Regions from separate parts of the Homo sapiens genome. Here all the other regions are linked to region 2. The links are contacts of gene promoters, found by promoter capture Hi-C in blood cells and fetal thymus (Javierre and others, 2016). All regions are on one chromosome and are shown on one strand. Each heading gives the region's core, a stretch centred on a gene start or on the middle of the fragment in contact. The rest is flanking DNA. Distances are from core to core; before and after follow the strand shown.

The links. The method cuts DNA at HindIII sites, captures the fragments that hold promoters and counts their contacts. A CHiCAGO score of 5 or more calls a contact.
Region 1: a fragment that was not itself captured here is called in contact with the fragment with the promoter of TRANK1 in region 2 in 1 of 17 cell types (M0 macrophages); the score reaches 6.9 in M0 macrophages.
Region 3: a contact is called between a fragment that was not itself captured here and the fragment with the promoter of TRANK1 in region 2, in 1 of 17 cell types (M2 macrophages). The highest score is 6.0, in M2 macrophages.

The regions. Positions count from the first base shown.
Region 1 is chr3:33,820,186-33,824,451 of GRCh38, reverse strand. It overlaps PDCD6IP (programmed cell death 6 interacting protein), which reads right to left. Exons shown (of 18, transcript NM_013374.6): 4 at 2,370-2,497. Among named protein-coding and RNA genes, the nearest start is that of PDCD6IP, 24 kb to the right of the region's middle. The HindIII fragment of the contact is 2,045 bases long and covers 445-2,489 here.
Region 2 is chr3:36,942,039-36,946,610 of GRCh38, reverse strand. TRANK1 (tetratricopeptide repeat and ankyrin repeat containing 1) reads left to right here and starts at 1,557. Exons shown (of 24, transcript NM_001329998.2): 1 at 1,557-1,824. The coding sequence starts at 1,802. RefSeq lists an enhancer at 1,390-1,459 and a silencer at 1,690-1,909. The HindIII fragment of the contact is 7,723 bases long and covers 1-2,667 here.
Region 3 is chr3:33,874,037-33,878,319 of GRCh38, reverse strand. No RefSeq gene overlaps it. Among named protein-coding and RNA genes, the nearest start is that of PDCD6IP, 78 kb to the right of the region's middle. The HindIII fragment of the contact is 1,820 bases long and covers 1,522-3,341 here.

The DNA of each region.
Region 1 (4,266 bases), core at 218-2,717, 3.1 Mb after region 2:
ACCCCGTCTCTACTAAAAATACAAAAATTAGCTGGGCATGATGGCACACACTTGTAATCCCAGCTGCTCGGGAGGCTGAGGCAGGAGAATCACTTGAACCCAGGAGGCGGAGGTTGCAGTGAGCCAAGATCACGCCATTGTACTCCTGCCTGGGCAACAGAGCGAGACTCCATCTCAAAAAAGAAAAAAAAAAAAAGGTGTCATGAGTTAGATAAATAGACAACACAGAGAAAACTCAAAGTCAAATGTATTAAAATGAACAGCATGTTTCTGCAGTCAGTAAGTATTATAACACTAGAGTATCTGCTAGGAATGAACAACTGAACTTGTTCAGTAAACTAGTGAATCAAAGTCTACAACAGCAAAGTGTCTGAGTCTCTCATTTACAGATAAGGAACTGGAGGTACTAGAGAGGTTAAAGAACTTGCCCAACGGCACAAAGCTTCTGGGTGGCAAGCAGCCTAGACAAGGACCTAGGTCTAATACCACCAGTTATCTTTCCATGATACCAGGTGCCCTGCTGTGAACCCTCACAGAATGGAATGTTTCTTTCATAATTCAGAATGACCTTTCTAAAATCTCATATACTAACTAACTGAGTTACAGTTAACCAAAAGCTAAATAAAATTTTACTTCGTTTTCACTACTGTATTTTATTTTATTTATTTTGAGACAGAGTCTTGCTCTTGTCGCCCAGACTAGAGTGCAATGGCACAACCTCAGCTCTCTGCAACCTCCGCCTCCTCGGTTCAAGAGATTCTCCTGCCTCAGCCTCCCGAGTAGCTCAGACTACAGGCGCCCACCATCACACCCAGCTAATTTTTCTATTTTTAGTACAGACAGGGTTTCACCATGTTGGCCAGGCTGGTCTGGAACTCCTGACCTCGTGATCCGCACACCACAGCCTCCCACAGTGCTGGGATTACAGGCGTGAGCCACCACGCCCAGCTCGTTTTCACATTTTAAAATATTTGCCATGTATAGCCTCAAAAAGAAATAGCGTATGCATTATGTTTGTCATCTATGCCCATTCAAAACTGTAAGGCAAGCCACAATTTGGAGCGTGTTGTTTGCTTACGGTATATTTTCCTTTTACTTTCTCAGAACAGCATCACTCACCTCTTCCCTAAACATAAACAACGGGAAAAAGCAGACTACCTCTGAGACAAGCAAATTTCATGGGAGGTTTGGGAGTGAAACAGTGGAAGGACATTTGGAATTACATGAAATTTGGAATCAGAACTATTGAAACCCAAATAGACTGCTTTATTAAGACTTCGGACCTTTAGCCTCCTCGTATGTAAAATCGGAATGACATTATATGACATACATCACAAGGTTTATCTGAGAGTCAAATAATGTACATGAAAACACTTTGTAAATTAGAAAGTAATATAAAATGACAACATGATTATATATATATTATTTAACAGTAATCATTTACTGTTCTTTTAACCAAAACAAAAAAAAGCTGAATAAATAATAAACAACTGCTGGCCGGGCATGGTGGCTCACATCTGTAATCCCAGCACTTTGGGAGGCCGAGGTGGGTGGATCATGATGTCAGGAGATCAAGACCATCCTGGCTAACACAGTGAAACCCCATCTCTACTAAAAATACAAAAAAAATTAGCCAGGCGAGGTGGCGGATGCCTATAGTCCTAGCTATTCAGGAGGCTGAGACAGGAGAATGGCGTGAACCCAGGAGGCGGAGCTTGCAGTGAGCCGAGATTGTGCCACTGCACTCCAGCCTGGGCAACAGAACAAGACTCCGTCTCAAAATAAATAAATAAATAAAATAAAATAAACTGCCACAAAATAACATGCCATATTAGTAAATGATCAGTACGTAAAACAGATTAGGCAACTTATGAACATTATGTGTCTGACCATATTTAAATATGACCTCTCCACAAGTCTCAAAGTTAAAATTTTATTTTCTTGCCAATTTCTTGTCTTTATTTTTGTAACAACAGTGAAATTTCAAGTGTGTCTCACTCTAAGAAAACATATGAAAATAATGTACAAATTTTTTTTAATTAGGTAATTTATTTAAAATGGATTTACCCTAAATGCCTGAGATGAAATCTCAGACATTTCATAATTTCTTCAACCAACAATTATTGAGCCTCTATTATGTGCCAGGCACTGTGCTAGGTGCTCGGTATAAAACAATGAGGAATAACAGACCTGGTCTATAGACAGTTTATCTAAGGGCTTTAACAGTAAGAATAAATTCATTTTAAAAGTGCATTCGTTTTAGAAAACATCTGTTGCGTAAGAAGTATCTATAAACCTAAATGCAAATTATTTTCCACTTAATCCAATTTAGTGTTGACCATTATTGTAGTAACTACTTTTCAGCATACCTGGTAATGTTTAGCAGCGATTTTCAATCCTTCATCATTATCCAGGTTCTGTTCTGCTGCAATTTGGCTAGCTAAGGCTGCACAATTGAACAACACACAGCTCTTTTCATATCCTAAGCTTGCAAGAGCTGTAAAAAATTGAGAAGGAAAAATTCATCAGATTATTTTTTCTAAAGAAAACAAATGTTTCAAAGAGAAATACTATGACCTCTCTCATCCCGCTGACTCTCACAAAAACAAGTTTCCAGACCTGTTTTCTTGCTGTCATATGCTCCCATATTTCAAGCTGCCCTTACAGGCATTTATTTCCACAACAATATTCCCATCACCCAAAACGCTGAAGAACAGTAAGTTATTCTTTCTCTCCTTCCCTTTACTTCCACATTTCTATTACAATCAAATTCAAATGTAAAAGTCATTTTCATGTCATTTCTCTCAGTTTCTTAAATTTGAATAAATTATTTCCATTTTTCTGTCACCTCTCAAAATCACATTGTCCCACCACAATCAAACCAATTCCTCATTACCACAAATCTAAGTCAATGCAATTACCTCCTAGCTGGCCTTATGCTTTACTCCCTCATGCAAATACATTTCTCAAAGGGCTAGCAGGTTAGCTGGGCTAAAACCCAACTCTGATTAAAAAAAAAAAATCTACACACCTCACATCCACTTAGGATAGCTCCTATTAAAAAACAAACAGAAAATAAGCATTGATGAAGATATAGACAAACTGGAACTTTCCTGTACTGTTGGCAGGAACGCAAACTCGTGGTTGGGCATGGTGGCTCACTCCTGTAATCTCAGCACTTTAGTAGGCTGAGGCAGGAGGATCTCTTGAAGCCAAGAGTTTGAGGTCAGCCTGAGCAACACAGCAAGACCCCATCTCAACAAAAAAAAAAAAAATTGTTTTTAAACAGCCAGGTATGGTGGTGCATGTCTATAGTCCTAGCTACTCGGAGGCGGGAGGACCACTAGGGCCCAGGAGTTCAAGGCTGCAGTGAGCTATGATCATGCCACTACACTTCACCCTGAGCGTCAGAGCAAGACCCTGTCTCAAAATAAAAAATAAAAATTAGAAAAAGTACAACTGCTGTGGAAAACAATATGGCAGGTCCTCAAAATATTAAAAATAGAATTGCTATTTTATCCAGCAATTCCACTTTTGAGTATACACCCCCAAAAAAATGAAAGCAGAGTCTCAAAGAGATATACGTATGCCCATGTTCATAGCAGCATTATTCACAAAGCCAAACATGAAAGCAACCCAAGTGTCTGTGATCTGATGAATATATAAACAAAATGTGGTATATACATACAATGGAATATTAGTGAGCCTTGAACAAGAAGGAAATCATATGCTATAACACGGATGAATCTTGAGGACATTAAGCTAAATGAAATGTCAGTCACAAAAAGACAAATATTGTATGATTCCACTTATATGAGTTACCTAGAGTAATCAAATTCATAGAGACAGAAATCAGAATGATGGTTATCAGGGATGGTGGTAGGGGGAGGGGGATTGTTGTTCAATTAGTACAATATTTCAGATTTGCTAGATGAAAAAGTTCTGGAGATGTATTTTACAACAATATGAAATACACCCAACACTAGTGAACTGTATACTTAAAAATGATTAAGATAATAAATTTCATGTTGTGAAATTTTTTTTAAATGCAGTCTACGACTCTACTTGTATGAGGTACCTACAGTTTAATTCAGAGACTGAAAGAATGCTAGTTGCCAAGGGTTGAGGGGGGAGGGAAGAATGGGACATTATAATTGTTTTTTTCTTTTGAGACAGGGTCTCATTCTCTCACCCAGGCTGGAGTGCACTAGTGCAATCACACCCATTGCAGCCTCTACCTCTTGGACTCAATCAATCCTCCTGCCT
Region 2 (4,572 bases), core at 308-2,807:
GGCAAGGCGGCGGGCACCTGTAATCCCAGTTACTCAGGAGGCTGAGGCAGGAGAATCACCTGAACAACAGAGTGAGACTGTCTCAAAACAAAAACAAAAACAAAAATTCCTGACGCCCATGTCAATTAGACAATTTGGGAGTAAAAGCCAAACATACGCATATTTTTGGGTTTTTTTTTTTTTTTTTGTATTTTTAGTAGAGATGGGGTTTCTCCATGTTGGTCTGGCTGGTCTCAAACTCCCGACCTCAGGTGATCCGCCTGCCTCAGGCTTCCAAAGTGCTGGGATTACGGGTGTGAGCCACCCGCCCGGCCTTGTTTTTGTTTTTAAGCTCCCCAGGTGATTCTATTGTGTAACTAAGGTTGGGAAGCACTGCAGTATAGAGTTTGCATGAGGAAGCTAAGATTGGAAATGTGGGGCAAGATTGTGAAGAAGAATCTCAAATGCCCGGGTACCTAACCTGATCTCTAGGAGACAATGGAGTGCCACTGATGGCTTTTGAACTGTACGTGATTCATCCTGATGTTTGGGGAAGATCAATGCACAGAAATCTCTGTGAGATTCTAGAAGCAAGGAGACCACTAGCTAGACTGAGACTAGTTCACAACGCAGAATGACCAGTGGAGAGAAGTATACTGTGTGCCTTAGGTGTGTCCACGTGTTACCAAAGCCTCTCTGTTTCGCTGAAATGTGTGGTCCCCCTCACTAAAGCTCTGGTGGTGTCCTCCCTGCCACCAGGCAGCCTGGTGTGGTGGTCCCCCAGAAGGATGGGCGAACCACCGGGATGCAGTGTAGGCCGAACCTTGCCCCAGGGGAGGGCGGCGGGCTTAGCTCTCTGATTGGGTGGATTCTCTGGTGTGTAGGAAAGTACTCCCAGGCCCAGAGAAGCTGTGAAGACCAAACCGGCTCCCTAGGCCGAGAACCGCTGGGGAGGTAGCAGCCAGAGGTGGTCCTCTCCGACCCACTACTCTGTCGATCATCACTGGGGAGGTGGAAAGACAAGGCAAGATCCTCATTTTGTTGCCTGCTCAGGCCTGTGCGCACTTACTCTCCATGGACACGACGGTGAGCGTGGAGCAGCCCGCGGTCTCGCTGCCCCCTTCACTCCCGGACCCCCAGCCTCCCCAGAGTGGAGGGGCAAGCACACAGTAAGTACTTGATATTCGCCCGACTCCTGAGCTCCTCATCTGTAGGAGCTAGGGGGCTTGTTCTCCGTACGTCCTTTGTTGGAGGGAGGAACGAGGGAAGGAGAAAACCCACGCTGAGGCCGTTGGCCGATCACTTTCTTTACCTCCCGGACAACATTGATGGGCCCCACTAAGGAAAGCCGAATTCTCGCATGCCCGAGGAGTGTCGGAGGTGGTTGTGCGCCTAGTCCCTCCTGGTAAAGGGTTCGAAGCACTCGTTTATTCAAAGGCGGCCGAGAGCCATACCATTTGCTTGCATGACGGGAGACACCGAAACGCCCCTTTTGAACGCGATGACAAACACCTCCTCCCACTCAGCAGCGACGTGCACGTGACAGTTTTTGGGCTCTCGCAACTACGTGGAAACTTGGAATAGGTCTGCGGCTGCACACCGCCCGGACGCCGGGGTTCCTGCGTCCCCCGCCCCCTCTGATCGCGGCTGGGTAGCCGAGCCGCAGGCAGCTGGGGGCCCCCGAACGCCGCCTCTGCATCGCGCCGCCCCTGCCCCGGGCTCCGGTAGCTTTCGGGCTTCCGCACTGCCCGCCGCGCCCTGCCCACAGGGAAGCGCTTCCCCAGGCGGCGGCGGTCCTGGTGCGGACCCTCCGGCCGCAGCCATGTGGGACCCGCGGGCAGCTAGGTGCGTAGCGGCGCGGGAAGCACTGGGGCATCTCTGGCCTTCCGGGCCCGCCACCCTTCCTGGCGGGAGGCGGCCGCGCGCGGGGACTGGCGACCCTGAGGTAGCGGCCGAACGGGCCCGCCCGGCCATCCCTGTGGGGCCCACAGCCATCTAGGTGCAGACCCGAGCCAGTTGCGCGGGGTCGGTCGCGGGGGACGGCTTCGGCCTTTTCGGTCCGGAGGGACCAGGGCACGCGCTGCGACAGGACTGCGGCGGCGCGCGGCCTGCCTAGCTCCCACCCCGGCATCGAAGCCGCAGCTCTCGGGCCCACCTCCGCATCCTCAGGGGTTCCCGGGGGCTGCCGACAGGTTCCTGACCAGCGAGCGCGCCCCCGGGGCAAGCATTCTTGGCGGGCAGAAACCTGGGAGCGGAGCACAGCGGTGCAAGGGAACCGTGCCAGGCGGGAAGGGCGGAATTTGCGGGGAACTTGGAGCGCGCTGGCCTCTTCCCGGCAGTAGGAGGCCTTCTTCCCTGCCCGCCCGATTGAGGGCTGCTGGGCTGGCTCAAACTGGACTGCACGGTCCATCAGCCTGGGCTCACCGAGTCTAGGGGGAAGGTAGTAGTAGGGACCCAAGGCTGGGAAGCGGAGCCCTTAGAAGCCCTTGCTTCTGCCTCGGAGCGTTTCCGAACCGGAGCTCGGAGTCTGTTGCCTGGGAGGCGCGTTGCGTTTCCTCCCAACTCCCTGTCTCCGTCCCGCGGGGAGCCCTGTGCACTTGCAACCCGGCTGAGATAGAGCCCATCTTTGAGGTGCAGCTCAAGCCACCTTTTCTCCCAGATCGGGGTGTTTCTGGGCAGTTGAAAGCTTTGGTGCTTCCTAGGAAAATTTTTATGGAAGTGTGCAATTTGGAAAATAAAAGAAAAAAAAATTTAAGAAGCAGAAAGAGAATGGGGCTCTGAGGTCTCTAGTTCCCCTATCTGCTCCAACCCAGTTGCTGCTGGCTCAGTTAGTCCTTATGCGGGAAGGAATAGCTGGGATTAAAGCCTTGTGTTCCCAGCGTAGGTATGCGCTCCTGCTCCCTCGTGCTGAGCGTTTTGGGTTCCAGGATCCTTTTTGATATAAGGCTGTTATCCGGATGGCATCCTGTTTGGTCCTTTATAGAAAAAAAAAAAAAGTACTACGGTGTGTGTGTGTTGGAGGGCGGGGACGGTGGTCAGGAGTTTGTTTCAACTGTTTTCCAGGCAGGTCTGTTTTGTAGGATTGCAGGATAGGTGCTTGAGTTCATATGCTCTTTGTTGGCTTTTGCATCCTCTGCGGGGGGTGGGGGGGTGGGTAGAGGTGGGATAGGTGTGTGTGGCATTCACTCCCAGAGTCGCATCCCACTGCCACTGGCCTATGTATGGGTTTCTAGGTCTTTTTTCGATCAAGACCCACACCCACCCACCTATATGTATATAATGTATATATGCATAATATGTGTGTAATATTATATATACATATATACGCACACACACATACACATGTAAAATTGCAGCAAGAGCTTCATGGTATAGTTATTCTTTCTACAGGGTGAGGCACAATGATATTTTCCATTCTATTCCCTCCCCCCACCCCCCACCAGAGGGATTCTCGCTCTGTCACCCAGGCTGGAGTGCAATGAGGCGATCTCGGCTCACTGCAGCCTCCGCCTCCTGGGTTCAAGCGATTCTCCTGCCGCAGCCTCCGAAATAGCTGGGATTACGGGGGGCCGGGGGTGGGGCGCCACCAAGCCTGACTAATTTTTGTATTTTTAGTGGAGACGGTGTTTCGCCATGTTGGCCATGCTGGTCTCAAACTCCTGATCTCAAGTGATCCACCCGCTTCTGCCTGCCAGAGTGCTGGGATTACACGCCAGAGCCACCACGCCGGCCCATTCTATGTTTTTTTTTTTTTTTTAAAGCGGGTCATAAATTGTTAACTTCACTTTATGACCGACTGACCAGCTTTATGGGGCAACTGCAGGTTCTGTTTCCGCCGCTCTCCCAGAGTATGAGGAGACCGTCAGCATTTCACAGGGGAGTTGACTTTGGAAGTGAGGACTTGGTGTAGGAGTGATGAAGTAGACTGAAATTCATACTTGAGTGATAGAATACTGTAGGACATGGCTGTGTGGTTCAAGCCAGTACCATCTACAAAGACAGACCGCAGATGCTTCTGGTTACTTTGGTTCTGGCTATGTGTCCACAGAGAGCTGGCCTCCTGCATGGATCCCAGTGGGGCCTGGTGTAAATGCTAGGGAGGTAGGGGCATAATAGCTCCTGTTCTTTTTTTTTTTTTTTTTTTTTTTTGAGGAAGAAGAAGGGAAGATGCTGCAACCCTACTGCAGCCTTGGATTCATAGTTTTCTAAAAGGATTCTTTGGGTCTTGTCTCAGAATTTCACAGCTGCAATCAAGAGCTGGACCACGATCATTTTATAGATGAAGAAATTAAGGCCCAGAAAGGCCATCACTTGTTAGTCATTACCAACGAGTTAGTGTTAGATCTGGGATTAGACAACTTATCTCTTGACTTCCCAGTCCATGGCTCTCAGGAACCAAATAGAGACTGGCCTTGTGGAAATATTAAACTTCTATTTGCTGGTTGCTTCTGTTTTCCTGAAGTTACTACCAAAGACCCATTTCTATAGTATATGCCCTCATTATTTTATCTTTGCTTTTGGGGATGAAGATTATTTTAGCAGCCAAGTAGAGCCTGCAGTCCTCCTGTTTGGGGAAGGTAAAGTGATCTGAAG
Region 3 (4,283 bases), core at 1,182-3,681, 3.1 Mb after region 2:
GGGAAAATGTGAGATCAGTAAAGATTGTACCAAATCATAAAATATCATGGCCATATTTGAAAATGTTTTGGAATGCTCAACATCACTAATCATCAGAGAAATACAAATCACAACCACAATGAGATGTCATCTTACCCAGTCAGAATGCTACTATTAAAAAGACAAAAATAACAGGTGTTGGTGAGGATCCGAAGAAAAGGGAACTCTTATACAGTGTTGCTGGGAATGTAGACTAGTACAGCCACTATGGAAAACTGCACAGAGATTTATCAAAAAGCCTAAAATAGGAGAGATGGAGCAAGGTGGCCAAATAGAAGCCTCCAGCCATCATCCCCTCTGCAGGAACACCAAATTGAACAACTATCCACAAAAGAAAGCACTTCACAAGAACCAAAAATCAGTGGTTGGACATATAACAACATTCTCTATAAAAAAAGAGTATATTGAGAAGTAAAACTTAGTGATGATTTTATTAAAAATGTCAGTCCCTAATCATTCTTACAGTATTTTGCTATGTTGAGAATGTAAAAGAAAAAAAGTAAATTGCAAAAAAATTATATCTATAAGCAATTTAAAAATCTTTAGTATTAAAGAGTTAATTCAAAAAAATGGTTTTTAGTTTTTTTTTTTAAACTAAAACTAGAATTGCCACTTGATCCAGTAATTCCTCTATTGAGTATCTACTCAAAGGAAAAAATATCAAAATACCAAAGGGGCACCTGCACCCACAGGTTTATGCAGCACTATCCACAATAGCTAAGGTATGGAATCAACCTAAGCACCTATCAATAGATGAATGGATAAAGTAAAGAAACTGTAGTATATATATACACAGTAGAATGTCATTCAGCCATAAAAAGCAAATACAATTATGTCATTGGTAGCAACACGGATGGAACTGGAGGTCATTATCTTAAGTGAAATAAGCCAGGCACAGAAAGACAGATACCACATGTTCTCACTCAAATGTGGGAACTAAAACATTTGATCACTTGGAGGTAAAGAGTGAAAAACTAGACAACAGAGACTGGGAAGGGTGAGTGGGGGCAAGAAGAAGAAGGGAAGTGGGGTAAAGGGCACAAACGTAGAATAAGATGGAATAAATTCAGTGTTTGATCGCAGAGTAAGGTGGTTATGCTTAACAGAAATGTATTGTTCTTGGGTGATGGGCACCCTGAATATCCTGGCTTGATCACAATGCATTATATACATGTATCAAAATGTCACATGTACCCCATAAGCTTGGACTAACTTTTTAAAATGCATTGGTGACAGTGTGTGGCAGACCAAGTGCTGCAGAAAAAGGAATTGTGAATTAGATTATTTCAAGAAACTTCTCCAATCAAGAAAAAGGTGGAAGATTAAAATAATGGGTAAAAAATAATAGTAGCTAACATTACTAAACATTTATTATGTGCTACACAGATAGAAAACATGTGGAGAGATCTAGTATCTGTAACAATAGAGATTCCAGAAGGCAGTCGAGAGCACATGGAAGAGAAGTGAAAAATCCTCCAAGCTTACTAAAGGCTTGAGTATTTGTATCCAAAGCTCATCTGGACTTCTGGGGTTCTGCTCTGACATGTGAAGAGCTCAGCAACCACCCCTTCATCCTCACAACAAAAAAGAGCTGAACAAACTGAAAATCAACAATTCTTTTTTTAATCCACCAGAGAATTGAGATCACAGGGCAAACAAATAGCCCCAAGACTGGAGAAACAGACAAATACAGAAGCAGGAGCCGAAGCCACTGGAGCCAGGATCTAGGAGGAAAAAAACTGTAATGGACAAACTGCTGGAAGCTGAGTGGGGCCTAGACTGTGTGTTAAAAACTCCTGGGGCCCAGGCCCAGAGGGGCCCCCATGTTTTCATGAGTTTCACCTGCAAAAGCCCTACCAGGGTCTCGTGGTGAAAATTTGGGGGAAATCCCCTGATGCTTCCAGCAGAAGGGGAAAGTAACCATCTGAGCATTCTGTTCTCCACTTGCCCTCAAGGGAAACTATACTGGTTACAATGTAGGGGAAAGGAAATACAGTCCCCACTCTGTGTCCATAGGTTTTGCATCCCTAAATTCAACTAACGTTAGACCAAAAAAAAATTTTTTTAATTGTATCACTACTGAACACGTACAGACTTTCTTTACTTGTCATTATTCCCTAAACAATATAGTAAAACAACTACATAGCATTTACATTGTATTTGGTATTATAAGTAATCTAGAGATAATTTAAAGTATATGGGAAGATGTGCATAGGTTATATGCAAATACTATGCCATTTTATATCAAGGACTTGAGTATCCATGCACTTTGGTATTTGTGAGAAGTCCTGGAATCAAGCACCTACTGATACTGACAGAGACAACTGTACCCAACTCCAGCCCCCTTTAACTAACTTCCTGTCTCACCTAAGGAGTAAAACAAAAGCTGGGAAGCACTTGTGAGGGTCACAGGCCATGGCCACAGGCTCCTTGAAAGATTGAGACCAAATCACAGGATTATAGAACACTTCTACCCTCACACCTCAACACCACATCAATAAGGCTCCTGTGTGACAACAGAGATTACAGCTGAAACAACTGCAAGCCTGAGGCTCTGTTTAAGAAAGAATGTCTAGGGAAAACCAAAAACAACAGGGAAAACAAAAATGAGGACACTGAAGAAAACTGAAATCTCAGACATCTACAGCTATGGTAAGTGATAAACACAGCCAAGTTCTTAGCCAGATAAACATAAACCCTTATCCTAAAGATCTGTTTACCTCAGGTCCTTTTAGCCAATATATCAAATCTGCCTTTCAACAGTAAATTACAAGGCACATTAAAAGGCAAGAAAAACACTCTGAAAAGATAAGCAAACAACAGAACAAGACTTACATATGGAAAAGATTTTGATACTATTTGACTGGGAATTTTAAATAACTATACTTAATATGCTAAGGGTTCCAATGTAAAAGTGGACAGCATGCAAGAACAGATGAGTAATGAAAGCAGACAGCTCGAAACTCTAAGAAAGAAATGAAAGAAAATACTAGAAATCAAAAGCCCTATAATATAAATGAAGAATGCCTTTGATGGGCTCACTGGTAAACTAGATACAGATGAGAAAATATTCAGTGAGCTTGAAGATATGTCAAGAGAAACTTCCCAAACTGAAATGCTAAGAATGAAAAATTGGAACAGAATAGCCAACAACTGTGGGACAATAACATAACATGTAATATATTCACAAAGAGAACACCAGAAGCTGAAGAAAGAAAGGAGAAGAATAAATATTTGAAGTAATAATGGATTAGAATTTTCCAGGATTAATGACAGATACAAAACCACAGATCCAGGAAGCTTGGAGAACACGAATCAGGACAAATACAGAAAAGTCTACACTTTAACAAATCATATTCAAACTTGCAGAAAACCAAAGACAGAGAAAATCTTGAAAGAAAGCAGAGAAAAACCTGCCTTACCTATAGAAAAATAAGGATAAGAATTCCATTAGACTTCACAAACAATGCAAGTAAGAAGAGAAGGGAAATATTTACGGTGTTGAAAGAAAATAATCACCAACCTAGAATTCTGTATTTGGCAAAATTATCCTTCAAAAGTAAAGGAGATGATCATAGACATAAATATAAAACACAAAACTACAAAATTTCCAGAATATAACATAGGATAAAAGCTAGGTAATCTAGGGTTTGACATAGATTTGATATAACACCACAAGCACGAGCCATGAAAGAACTGGTAAGTTTGACTTCATTAAATTAAAAACTTTTGCTCTGTGAAAAAGCTTTTGCTCTACAAACTGGAAGAAAATATTTGCAAAACACATCTGATAAAGGAACTACATTAAAATATACCCCAAAAAAGCATTAAAATTCAATGAGAAAATCCAATTCAAAAATGGATAGAGGTCCTGAACAGATGTCTCACCAAAGATACAAGATGGCATATAAGCATGTGAAAAGATGCTCAACGTCATAAATCATTAAGAAATTGCACATTAAAAATAGTAATATACCACTACACACCTATTAGAATGGCTAAAATCCAAAAATCTGACAATACCAAATGCTAGCGAGGATGTGGAGAAACAGGAACTCTCATTCAGTGCTGGTGGGAATGCAAAATGGTACAGCAACCTTAGAAGACAGTTTGGCAGCTTCTTACAAAGCAAAACATAGTCTTTTATGATCCATGAATTGTGCTTCTAGGTTCTCACCCAAATAAGTTGAAATTTTATGTCCATACAAACCTGCACATTAATGTTTATTCATAAATGCCAAAAA